4 separate regions of the Homo sapiens genome follow, and regions 2, 3 and 4 are each linked to region 1. Evidence: promoter capture Hi-C in 16 types of primary human blood cells and fetal thymus (Javierre and others, 2016). All regions are on one chromosome and are shown on one strand. The core of a region is centred on a gene start or on the middle of the fragment in contact, and the rest is flanking DNA. Distances in the headings are between cores, read along the strand shown.

Region 1 (3,067 bases), core at 379-2,878:
ACGGTGGACTATATATTTGCTAACTAGATATTTTGAATCACTTCTATTTACAGTACCATGCAACTCAGGAGGAAAATATATTTGAAACAATTAAGTGAAAAATACTTAAACTTATCTAGAAATAACCGGAAAATGAAATGAGAGAATCAAGAAGCCATACTCTTTCTCATAGGTTGCTGGTCTTCTTACTTTCTCTGCACTAAACCTATGAAAAGCCTACTTTGAGGGGAAAATAACCGAAAGAAATGTCAAACGAAGTACAAGAACAAGCAATGAGTTATATTTTATGAAAGTGTACAAGATTTAACAGACACATATCACACACTATGAAAAAAGTTATGTAAACACAGACGGGGTTTTAATGAAACAGCATTCAGAAATTAATCTAGAAGCTTTATTAACACAGCAAATCTGTCCTACCAACTTAATCTGGTCATTCCTTTGAATATAACAGTTATGAAACAAGCATATTCTTCAGCAGGCTTCTCATAAAAAATTCCAGAGATTTTAAAGGAAAGCCTAAGAACTAGACTTTTCTCGTTAAAATGTGAGTTAAATTTAAAGATGTCGTATGGAATGTAGCAGCAATCAATACTGGGAAGCAAAATGTATATAGAAAAAATAAAAAATATATACACAGATTTAACGCAGACACTATCTAAATATCAACGACAGGCTCAAAATACTTTATAAGGATTATGTGTCAACATAAGCCTTTAACATTCGCTCTCTTAAAGCCAAAATGTTTTAAGATTTAGAACCAGAGAACAGGCAGTCTGACGGTCAAAGAGGGGAAATCATTTTTTTCCAGCATCTTCTAATGAAGTCTGTCTCTCACAATTATAAAAACTTTTGCAGGCTGGTCTAAACCGTGAGCTGCCTGGAGAAAGCAGAAGGGAGGTATCCTGAATGAAAGCCAAACCATCTCCATAAATTAATGTCTTCCCTTGACTAGAAAGCATTTCAGGGTAAAAAGCATGTACGAATTCCTCCGTAATATGAAAAGGGGTTGGAGGGCAGGGAATGAAATAGAGAGCGAGGGCACTAAAACATGTTTAGTTAACAGCGCTCAGAAGTCTCCACACAACCCGTATTCCCCTCCATCTCAATCAGACCAGGCTATTCTCTCCTCCTCCGAAGGTTTAGGGGTCAGAAAGAGATGTGGGGTCAAAGTGGCTTCCCCGACAGGTCCCCTCCCTAAGTTTCCCCTCGGCTGAGCCCAGATCTCCGCTCTGAACCGACCTAAGAGCTGGTCTAGGGCTGGGAGCCCGGTTGATACCAGCAGCTGTCCATTCCGCACCGACGGTCGCGTGCCCGCAATGGACACCAGTCGAGGGCCGCTGTCGTTGGTCACGCTGGCTCTAGGACCCCTCCTCTGGAAACTGGTGACGTTGCTCTTGCTGGCTGTCGCCACTGCAGACCCAGTACTCGCGGCAACACTACCGCAGGTTGCCACTGCCGCCATCTTAGAGCCTCCAGTGTTAACCCAATAGGAACTCTGGGAACGCAAACACCCGTCCTATCAGAACCAGTGCCAAACTCCCGCCTCCTCGCCCCAACCGCGGCTCTCGTAACCAATAGGACTGAGACGTCAGTCCCGAGCCAACCAATCGGAAGGCGTATTGCTGAAAAGTGCGCCCTACGAAAGGACGGTCGACTTCGGCGGGGCCCAGGTGAGAAAGGCCCACCTGTGTCCTGGTTGAGGGTCTCCAGGGTTCTTTGGGGCCCGAGGTAGGTAATATCACGTAACGTTCTTCTCCTTTTGAGTGCCTTCATTCACATTGAGTTAAAGAAAAGGTTGGTGAAACAATAAACCCTTAGGGCTTATCAAGCAATTGCTAGCACCTTTCTCCGCTGTGTGTGAGGATAGACTTTTTTCCTGCTCATTTATCTTCTGATTTCTGATAGAAAATTCACTCCGCCTTCCCCACGATGTCTTTTTCTTAATTTTGTGTTATATGGAAAGGATGGGATCTCTTACCTTAATGAGTTGGTTGCTGAGCGTCTGGGCTTAGTTCGTTAGTGCCTAGTGGTAGGTGGTTTGGAATTAAACCTTAGAGCGAAAACTCTTGAACTTTGAGGCTATCTGGTTTTCCTGTGTCTGACAAACTATAGCTCTCTGACAAGTTCCGATAAGAAGCTTTTGTTAATTTTAATTAGTGTTTCTGGAAGTCTTGGATGTCTTTCCTAAGCGGTGTAAATGACAAGTGTTACTCTGACAACCTTGTTCACACATTTAATTGTCGTTTGCTGTTAAAGCAGCTGCAAATAACAGAAAATACTTAGGGTTTCTTTCCCCCAAAAAACTGCTAGGAAGAATTAGAAGTATACCTACTTTATTTTATGAACCCTGAATCGAGAGTTTATTACTAAAATACCAATTTTATGTGTGGAAAAAACATGTATTTTGAGTTGTATTTTTGTATTTAATTTTTTTTTCAAAACTGAGCAGGGACAGTGGGTAACTGATGTTTAAAGGCAATCATGATTGACAAATGTCTAAATTGAAAAGGACTCCCAAATCATTACCGCACTACTGAGTTATTGACTTTGACAGTGATCTGTGATACCTTTTAATTAGAGCCAAACCTCATTGAAATTCTTGCCATCGAATTGTTTTAAATCTCACTGACCTGTTGAAATTTTTGGGCTGATTCTGTTTGATAAATTGAAATTAGTATTGCTAAATAGTGACTGGAGTTTTTCATTTGGGGAGGATTTTTGTTTGTTTGCTTGTTTTTTAGAATCATGTTTAGGAAAAAACCCTGTTTCACAATATATCAACTGGAAAGCTTTGATCAAGGTTGCTTTCATATTGAATCTTTAAGTTACTCAATAAATAGCTGTTGAGTGATTACTGTCTGTTTGGACTTAATCTTGTCATTTTAGACCTATGGTAATAAAAATGGTCTCACCTGGAGGAGATAAAATTAACACATAGAAAACAACATAGTACTTAAAATGAACACATTAAATAGCATGTGCTAATTTTATCCTGTAGTAAATAAGCACTAGGAAGACCAAAAGAAAAAGTGACAAAGCAGTCCAATATCAGATAGAAACGTCT
Region 2 (3,300 bases), core at 497-2,996, 3.4 Mb after region 1:
TACCATAACTATAGAAAATCTAATAATTATAAAAAGTAATACTAAACATTATAACTTAAAATAGGTAAAAACTTACTTTGAAATATTTATAACCGAACCTAGCAAATTTAAACTATTTGTCATCATAATCTATTTTGCTTCCGTTTAGGTGCCAGCTTATTTTCTCAGCCTTTGTATCTGTTTTTTCAGATCAGTTACTTGATCAGACCTGGCCTGCCATACTGACGCTGAAATTATATAAAAGTCTTGAGCCAGAGAAGCTACCTCAGTACCCAAGGGACATTCCTCTTATTGGTGCCTCACATCTGTCTTCTAGTTTACTTTGACTTTTATTCATTCACTTAAAACATCATTACAAAACTACCATGTGGCAGGCCTTGTGCTAAGCACTAGAGATATAATGGTAAGCAAGACAAATATGTCCATGGCTTCATGGAGGGCAATCTACTAAGAGAGGTGTATATTGAACAAATAATCTCATCATAATTATAATTATGACTTATTAAGTTGCTATGAAGAAAAGTACATGATATATAATTGGGATACCTGTCTTCTGTGGAGGCTCATGAAAAGTTCCCATAAAAAGGTAAAACCTGACTCCAGGCCTGAAGGATGAAGATGAGGAGAGTTCCAGAAAGAGGAAACAGTACTTTTTCAGTTCCAGACAGGTTGGTTCCACCTTTGCTCTCCCCTTGCATTTTTCTCCTGAATTTCTTTTTTAATCTAGCTAACAACTTTGACTCTTTCTATTCCCATAGTAACAGCTAATGTTTATTGGGCTCAACTACTTGGAAGATACAATTCTAAACAATTTATGTATATTAACTCATCTAATCCTTACAGTAACCAGGAGTGAGATAGGTTCTCTTTCCTTATTTTACAGATAAGGAATCTGAGGCACAACCATGGAAAGTTAATTGACCAAACTGCACAGCTACTTGTACTAGTGGGGTACTTGTACCCTTATAATAACACTCAAAGAAGCCCCAAGGCACCAAGCTAAATTAGCACTACTACTGGGGCAAGAGTATCAGGTTTCCTATACTCTCCAAACTGCTACCATCTTAAACTAAGCAGAATTTAGCTATTTAGAAAATAACCAAACTTTTTTTTCTCCAGTTTTCAGAAATCAAGAATAAAAAGTTAATCTATTAGCCCAGACTAAAATATCTCCAGGAGAAAAAAAAAAGTTCTTAGGATAATACATTTTCACAAAAAGTTATTCACCTAGAATATGAAATGATGCAAACTAAGCAGGGAGAAATAATTATAATTTCTTTAATTTCTCCTTAACAATTAAAATTTTAAATACCTTCCAAGAGAAAGAGGATATTTTTCTCATAATTAAAACTAGTAAATATTTTAAGTGTATTTGAAAAACAAATCTGTAGTAAACTACATAGGTAGTAAACTAGCTATGATGCTAAAGAAATTCCCAAAATCACTATTTTCTTTAGGTGAGCACCTTTCAAGTATTAAAGAAAAAAGAACTATAAAATGCCTTGCACCTCACTTCAAATACATTCAGATATTTTTTAAAGTTCCTGTTACATCAAAAGTTTCATCTGGAGAATGGAGTGAACCTGCGAGGTGGAGCTTGCAGTAAGCTGAGATTGTGCCACTGTACTCCAGCCTGGACGACAGAGCGAAACTCCGTCTCAAAAAAAAACAAAAAAACAAAAAAAAGTTTCATCTGTAAATTCATCATTGAAGGTGATGCAGAAAAAGGTAATAGTAAGTAAGTAAGTGACTGATGCAAGTGAGTGTATGACTCATAGTTTGAAAAGGAAAATGATTTTGGGGAAAAGGCTCAGGAAGAAGAGAAGCAAATAATGGATTATGGACAAAATGAAGACCTTTCCTGTCCAAGGACTGTCACCAGTTCTTTATTACTTGAAGATTAAGGGAATAGTGAATAAAGCTGTCTGCCAGACAGCAGAAAAGGTAAGAAATAACATTGTCTCTAAGTGTACCTCACAAGAAAGTTTTTAGAAGTAACATTGGAAACATTAAACTTCTTATAAAAAGTTACTGGAAAACCCAACTCAAATCAGAAAAAGGAAAATGCCAAAATAAACCAACATTACATTTGTAGGTACTTGAACAGAATGAAACAGCAGTGTAGGTCAAGTTGTAGAATTATCTAATTTTATTCCACTTGGTTTTAGAAAATAGTTGGATACAATACTGATTTGCTAGAAGATGTAGTGCAATTTGTTTTTGTTTGTTTTTCTACTCCATGGCTTAGTGCAACATAAGCATTTGGCTTTGTTACTAGGGTTTAATAAACTAATACAATGTGCTTCGGTTTTTAGTTTCAGAAGTCAAGTTCAAGCCACTGAATTTGGTTCCAATTTTTACTAACTGCCCCTATCCTTTCATATATATATATATATATATATATATATATATATATATATACACACACACACACACACACACACATACATATATAGGTGTATATATGTATGTATATATACACACACTAACAAATATCACATATATTTCAATATACATTTTTTAAAACTCACACTTATGTATGGATTTTAATTGTTACCCCTGCATTATGGATCTTTTTAAAGCACGAAGAGAATTTCATTTTGATGAAGTCACTCACATTCAACAAGAAGTTTTATCCAATTTAATATTTTAATTTACATTTTCATGTATATTTGGAGTCCCACTACATGACAGCATTGAGCTAAATACTTTATACACGTAAATTCATTTAAGAATACTGGGTTTATCTGGGTGCAGCAGCTCACACCCATAGGACCAGCTACTCAGGAAGCTGAGACAGGAAGGATCACCTGAGCCCAGGAGTTCCAGACTACAGTGAGTTATGATCACATCACCATACTTCAGCCTCAACAACAGAGACAGACTCTCTCTAGAACAATTAAAATTTAAAAAAAAATTTTTTAAAGAATGCTGGATTTATTTTGTGTGTAAACTTGCCTGTGTATACTGCCTGAGGAGAAGGTAAATAATATTTTTATGAAGAACCCACATCGTATCACTGATGGCTTTTGTATGAGCAACATCTAGCCATTGTAGTACACCTTATACATATAGCTTAAATTTAGTTCATGAAAACTGCCTGATCCAACATGAAAAAGTTTCAGAAAAAAGAAAAGCTGGGTGTGTGCACACATGCACATGTTTCCTAGACAAGAGCTTAGAACCTAGGCAGTCCAGTTCCAGAATCTTTGCTCTTAACCACTAAGCAGTATGTTGGAAAAAGAAGAAAGATATAAAAATAACTGATTTAGATAAAAACAGTAGCTTCTAGAATAAGGG
Region 3 (3,411 bases), core at 216-2,715, 4.1 Mb after region 1:
GCAGCAATTCCACCAGGTCGCTGTTGTCTCCCCTTGGCCACCAGAGCTTCCAGTTTGACGAGGACGACGGTGACGGGGAGGATGAGGAAGACGTGGATGATGAGGAAGACGTGGATGAAGATGCCCATGATTCAGAGGCCAAAGTGGCGAGCCTGAGAGGAATGGAGTTACAGGGGTGCGCCAGGTAAACCCGAGGCCGCCCGGCCGATTCAGCCCTTTTCAAGATTCCTTAGACCCTCTTAAGTACCCCCTTCTAACATCCTCCTGCCCTCCGCCCCAAAGGCAGAGCAGGCACTTGCAGACTGAGGTGCCGTGGTTTTTTTTGCACATAAAGAGCCCTGTGCAAATTCTTGCAAATGACCATAGATTTCCTATGGCTCTTAATCCTTTTTTCCTGAGATATTATGATTGCTGCAGTCTCACTTCCCAGAAAAATGTACATAGTCTCAAACACACAAAACTCTGCTACCATTTCAGGCGTTCTATGAATCCTCAAAAGCCAGATTGTGCACTGCAGAACTCTTATCCCAAACCTGAACACCAGAACGTGGTTTACTGCACCTTAGTAGTACCTGTGGTTGGTTATTCTGAAAACATACTGATTGCTAGTGAAGTAGGTTGTAGTAAACAGGTCACTTTTTATAACATAAAGTGCTGAAGCACAGAGATTAGCAATGTCAACCTCAGCATGTGGAGACGTGGTTAGAGAGGATCTGAGCATGCACAGAGGAATGGATGTCATTGTATCAATGTTAGGACCAATGGGGTTATTAAAACTGTCTTAATTTGTTTATTTCTACTGTTACTCACTCAGCAAACATTGTTTGCCACATATTAGTCTACGTACTGGGGACCGTAAACAAGATACTGGTCTCTACTCTCATGAATTGAAGCCTAAATCAATCCACTTATTTTACAGATAATAAAACCATGGCTCAGAATGCAAAAAGTGACTCAAAGGCATGCACCTAGTTATTAGCAGACCTGGGTCTACTACGAAGATAGACAGATCATGTTCTCTTTCCTAAACTGCATGCCTAGTATTGGGTATACAGAAGTAGGAGCAAAGGGCCAATCCCTGAAGGAATATTTCTGAGACAGGCCCAGTAATGCAGGTCTATTCTGGGATAGACTCATTACGTTTTCTTCGGAAATCATTTACAAGTTTATGATTGTCAAGCTGTGTAAGGCACAGTACAGGAGCTCTAAGAAATACAGGCCAGAGAACTCATGCTTTATGTGTAAATAGCAAGATTCCCCCTTCAGTACAGGGTGTTCATATCCAGCATGAGTGAATGGAATATGGAACCCATATGAAGTAACCCGTATACATGGTTACAGGAGTGAATTAGTTACGAATGAGAAGTAAAAGTAAGTACATTGGTGGGAATGGAGATCAGAAAGAGTAACCAAGCAAGCCACTCATCCAGGCTGGTTGTAGCAACAAGAAACAGGCCTCCTCTGATCAACCTGATAGTAAAATTTAATGGTAGAGTTAGGGTTTCAGTAAATTGTTTTCATCTGGGCCTTTGTAGGTATTCTTCAGGACTGAGTTGGTCTCAAAGGTATTTAAAGTAAATTTGAAGGCTTTAGGAAATACTTTCTGAGCATAATCAACTGGACTAAGCAATCTGGACACAAGTTAGTGACCTGCGGAATAAATGACCATCGGAACTATAGCTCAGCTACTGAAACCTTGCATTAGTTTCCAAGAGCCAAAGCCCTGACTAAGTGGAGCCTGCCAGGGGAGGAGGTGAACGTATGTACGTCTCACTTATCCAAAGCCAGAATGAGCTGGTAGCACCACAGGGCTAAGGCTGCCTTCCTTATCACATTTCAGTCCCTATGAATCAAAGGAGTAGCTGGGACGTGGGTTTGAAAAGAGAATGCTGAAGTTGTCAAGCATTGTGTGTGGCAAGTGTCAGATGCTTATTAGGTGCTCAATAAACGTTTGCTGACTGCATGTCCATTTCCCACTTCCTAAAGAACAGATACATGCAGTGATTATTGTCAAATGCTTCAGAAACTTAGCACTTCCTTTCAGGAAAGGTAGATTTTTAGAAAATTTCCTCATTCTTTCTCTCCATTGGTCCTAACATTCTTTGATACAATGACATCCATTCCTCTGTGCATGCTCAGATCCTATCTAACCATGTCTCCACATGCTGAGGTTGACATTGCTAATCTCTGTGCTTCAGCACTTTGTGTTATAAAAAGTGACCTGTTTACTACAACCTACTTCACTAGCAATCAGTATGTTTTCAGAATAACCAACCACAGGTACTACTAAGGTGCAGTAAACCACGTTCTGGTGTTCAGGTTTGGGATAAGAGTTCTGGAGTCCACAATCTGGCTTTTGAGGTCAAACTGCTGACCTCTCTTTGGTGCCCTGGACAGCTTGGGGGTGACAGGATGAAGAGAGCAGGCAACCTGAGTCAGCCCTTTCATTGTTCTGGGTTTTGAGTATTCTGTGTGAAGCAGAGAGCAACCTAGAGCTGTGTGGGATTTTATGCCTTTTCTCCATGCCTCACCTGCCATATTGATCTGACTGGCAAAACGAATCGGGTAAGGCTTCTTTGAGCTAGGCTCAGGCATCAGCTGCACATAATGGATATTACCTCAAGGTATTTTTGGTATAAATAGTGCCATGTTTAGAGGATGCATTGACCTTCAAGGGTATTGGTCAGAACTGAGATTAAGCTCAAAGTTAGCTTCAGACAAGATAATGAGAAGCGTTTTCCTGGAATATTTTACAATGTGCTCTGGGCCTGCTGTTTATTCAGCTTTATCCTGGTTTTTCTACCACTATCCATTAGGAAAACCATGCTGTAATAAATATCTTGTTCACAAATGGCCACTTGTCAAGCCTTTCTTGATTATAAGTAGAGCTGTAGTGTGTGCGCCACACATTTTGAACACATTTGTTATAAATATTAAGGAAGGAAATTTAATATTCAAAGTGTCATTTCTTAAAAGAAAAGCCCACTGATCTGATTGTCTTTCAACAACTGTTTCCTAGGACCCTACTATATTCTAGACCCTAAGCCAGGCTCTTGAAATAAAAAAATGAGTTGAGATATATTTTCTTTAAGGAACTCATGACCTGTGGCAGAGATGAGCAAGTGACAGGAAGCCCAAGAGTTGTGGCTCCAGGCAGTGCTGGAGTTGAATTTTGAAGGGACAGTAGGAGTTCGTCATAAATGACTTACTAAGTACTTACTGAGTGCCTGGAACTATATTAAGTGCTTTAGCATGGATAGTTTCATGCAATTCTGCCTGTAAGGTAGCCAGCCACAACTGTCATCTCCATTTTATAGACAAGAAAACAGAAGCTTAAAGAAGTTTTTTAAAAAATGTACATAGCTTAGCTGGGCGTAGTGGCGGGCGTCTCTAATCTCAGCTACTCGGGAG
Region 4 (3,304 bases), core at 318-2,817, 3.4 Mb after region 1:
TGTTTTGGGTGAATTTATTATTTTTGTCTCTTTTATTTTAACTTACAAATGACAAAAAAAATGTGTAAGTTTATAGGATACAATGTAATGTTTTGATACATGTGTACACAGTGGAATGAGCATATCAGGCTAATTAATTAACATATCCATCACCTCACATACCATTTTTTTGTTGTGAGAACATTTAAAATGTACTCTTAGCAATTAACCATGGTCACCTTGCTGTGCAATAGATCACCAAAACTATTCCTCTTGTATAACTGAAACTTTGTACCCTTTGACCAACATTTCCCCTTTTACCACCCACCCCACCCTCCTCAGCCTCTGGTAACCATTACTCTACTTCTCTGTGTTCATATTTTTAGATTCTGCATAAAAGTGAGATCATGTGATATTTGTCTTTTTGTACCTGGCTTATTTTACTTAGCATAATGCCCCCTAGATTCATTCATGTCGTCATAAATGACAGAATTTTAGTCTTTTTTAAGGCTGAATAGTATTTCATTGAGTGCATATACCACATTTTTTCGATCTATTTATCTGTTGATAGGCACTTAGATTGTTTATATATCTTAGTTATTGTGAATAATGTTGTAGCGAACATGGCAGGGCAAATATCTCTTCAACATACTGATTTTAATTCCTTTGGATATATACTCAGAAGTGGGATTGCAGGATCGTCCTAAGTCTCACCTTTTGGTCCTTACTCAGATCTTGTTGTTTTGGGGTGTTTTATTTTGTTTTGTGGTTTGGTTTTTTTTTGTCTTTTTGTTGTTGTTGTTGTTTGTTTTTTTGTTTTGGTTTTTGGGTCTGCAGATTCTAGAGTATTTTCTGGATAGTTGAGACTTCCAAATTATTGATCTTTGTTACTTTACTTTTCTTCTTTGCATGTGAACCAGTCATAAAATCAGACCATAATTTTTAAACCTGCTATCATTGATTCCTTAAACTTGCACACAATTAGAAAGCAGAGAGTAGGATCAATATTCAGAGACTAGGTCTCTGAATACACCAAGGAGTCTATGCCATCTCTATCACCTTCAGACCTGAGCTATCTAGTTGAATGCATCCTTGGAACTATTTTTAACCCTATGGGCTTCTGAGATACAGGTAGAGACCAGCCTGGGTGTATCACTTTCCACGGCCAAGGGGCTTGCAGCCAAGATCACTTTTACTAAAAATAGTTCACAAGCTAAGGCTCTCCAATCATACCTTGATATGGTTCTGGGAGATCCTTTTCTATTCATTCCCATGACCTAAGCTGAAATAGTGCTGGAGGGCTTGTGAAAATCAAATCTGGGTTTTAGGATAGCATATCTGTGATTATATATGGTTCAGCTATAGTATTTGAGTTTAAGCCAAATATCCTACTAATATTTCAGGTAAAGAGATTTTTATCGTAGTTGTGTGTACGTATGTGCCATTTAATTGTTTGTTTTAGGGTACTTAAGTGCATATGTGTGTATGTGTGCATATATTTGTGTGTGTGTGTTGTGTGTGCCTACGTATGTATGTATTTTTCCCCCAGTGTTTACCTAGTGAGTGAAACAGAATTATTAACATCTTTTTTGAATGAATACTACATGCCAGTTGTTTTGCATGAAAGTAAAAACTGATATTAAAACTTTATTTTCTTTTTTAATTTCAGAGAAGTATTCAAGTATTTATACAGATAGGAATCAAGATAATCAACAATGTCTGTCACTGAGGAAGACCTGTGCCACCATATGAAAGTAGTAGTTCGTGTACGTCCGGAAAACACTAAAGAAAAAGCAGCTGGATTTCATAAAGTGGTTCATGTTGTGGATAAACATATCCTAGTTTTTGATCCCAAACAAGAAGAAGTCAGTTTTTTCCATGGAAAGAAAACTACAAATCAAAATGTTATAAAGAAACAAAATAAGGATCTTAAATTTGTATTTGATGCTGTTTTTGATGAAACGTCAACTCAGTCAGAAGTTTTTGAACACACTACTAAGCCAATTCTTCGTAGTTTTTTGAATGGATATAATTGCACAGGTATTTGTTTCAATTTGGGATTTAATTTCTCTATCCGATTTCACTTTTGCATTAGGACGGACATCTACTTGACCCTTCTAAATATAATCAAATTTAAGGAGCTTGTATGCTAAAAATTCTTAAGAAATTCAATAGACTTGAACTGTAAATATAGACTTTGAAATTTTAGTTATCATATATAACTTATACATCATTTGTAAACCTTTCTCTTCCAGGGCCTTACTGTGGCCCCTATAGACATCTGTCCTTTCAGTTGCCTATGTTATTAAACCACATGCTTATTGCAATTAACATCAGTTTTCTCATAACCTGTATTTATAACTTTTCCTACAGCTTACCTATGTAATTATCTATTCCTGGAGAGTAGTCAGACATTTCTGAACATTTGACAGTTTCTTTTCAGCAGTTTTTCTTCATGGCACATTGAAATAAAAATGTTTAAGTTGGCGAAGGATAGGAGGAGACTGAGGATCAAAAAACTACCTATGGGGTACTACACTCCTTACCTGAGTGATGAAAAAATCTGTACACTAAACCCCGCAGCATGCAATTTACCCATGTAACAAACCTGCACTGTACCCCCAAACCTAAAATAAAAATTGGAAAGGGGGTAAAAGTGTTAAGATCCCATGTTAATTATCTCATGCCCTTTAGCTCATTGTTAGCCCAAGAAGCATCTTTAGTGCTTTTTTTGGCCTTTCAAGAAAGCCATGTTGATTTCCTTTTTAAAAAAAAAAAAAGAGAGAGAGAGAGAGAGATACCCAAGATGCAAAATGGCCAGTTTTTCAGTGCCTACCAGGCACTAAACACCATTATTAATATCTTATTTTTGTAATTATTAGTATTTATGATATTTTCCCCAAGACAGCTCACAACTATAACATGTTTCACTGTCTTTTCCTGATTCATTTCAGTTTTATCATGGAAGACATACCCTCTTGATCAAGTAAGGATGGAGTGTGGTTTATTGATTGGTACTACTGTGATTCCCATTTTTAAGAAGATATTCTTTTCCTCTTTCATGAAACTTCATATGTCTCTAGAGATTTTGAAATCTTCTTAACTCTAAGAAAAAAAGTAGACTCTCTATCAAACTACTATTGAATTTTTGGTTTCTTTTTGGCTTTCTTTATATTCTTACCCTGTCTTTAAGACAGCTTAAGAATAAGCTTAAGAATAAGCCATTTTAAACCTTCCTTATATACCAGCTTACATAAAATAGAACAAAGTAAAATATACACCATCTTAATTCATCCTACTGAAAAGTATTTTTGTGGTTTGTTAA

Evidence for each region. Contacts are between HindIII fragments. The CHiCAGO score rates a contact against its expected background, and 5 or more counts as called.
Region 2: a contact is called between a fragment that was not itself captured here and the fragment with the promoter of IMMP1L in region 1, in 1 of 17 cell types (total B cells). The highest score is 6.6, in total B cells.
Region 3: a contact is called between a fragment that was not itself captured here and the fragment with the promoter of IMMP1L in region 1, in 1 of 17 cell types (fetal thymus). The highest score is 5.0, in fetal thymus.
Region 4: a contact is called between a fragment that was not itself captured here and the fragment with the promoter of IMMP1L in region 1, in 3 of 17 cell types (non-activated CD4 T cells, total CD4 T cells and naive B cells). The highest score is 8.1, in non-activated CD4 T cells.

Annotation. Positions count from the first base shown.
Region 1 is chr11:31,508,183-31,511,249 of GRCh38, reverse strand. IMMP1L (inner mitochondrial membrane peptidase subunit 1) reads left to right here and starts at 1,628. Exons shown (of 6, transcript NM_001304274.2): 1 at 1,628-1,731. It overlaps ELP4 (elongator acetyltransferase complex subunit 4), which reads right to left and starts at 1,483. Exons shown (of 10, transcript NM_019040.5): 1 at 1,243-1,483. The coding sequence starts at 1,465. RefSeq lists enhancers at 1,179-1,468, 601-1,490. The HindIII fragment of the contact is 1,748 bases long and covers 395-2,142 here.
Region 2 is chr11:28,116,381-28,119,680 of GRCh38, reverse strand. The region is part of intron 3 of METTL15 (methyltransferase 15, mitochondrial 12S rRNA N4-cytidine); the gene reads right to left. Among named protein-coding and RNA genes, the nearest start is that of METTL15, 9.6 kb to the right of the region's middle. The HindIII fragment of the contact is 7,760 bases long and covers 1-3,300 here.
Region 3 is chr11:27,359,609-27,363,019 of GRCh38, reverse strand. It overlaps CCDC34 (coiled-coil domain containing 34), which reads left to right. Exons shown (of 6, transcript NM_030771.2): 1 at 1-184. Among named protein-coding and RNA genes, the nearest start is that of CCDC34, 1.9 kb to the left of the region's middle. RefSeq lists an enhancer at 1-411 and a silencer at 1,704-1,998. The HindIII fragment of the contact is 3,738 bases long and covers 1-3,334 here.
Region 4 is chr11:28,096,338-28,099,641 of GRCh38, reverse strand. KIF18A (kinesin family member 18A) reads left to right here. Exons shown (of 17, transcript NM_031217.4): 2 at 1,649-2,019. The coding sequence starts at 1,695. Among named protein-coding and RNA genes, the nearest start is that of KIF18A, 10 kb to the left of the region's middle. The HindIII fragment of the contact is 3,247 bases long and covers 1-3,190 here.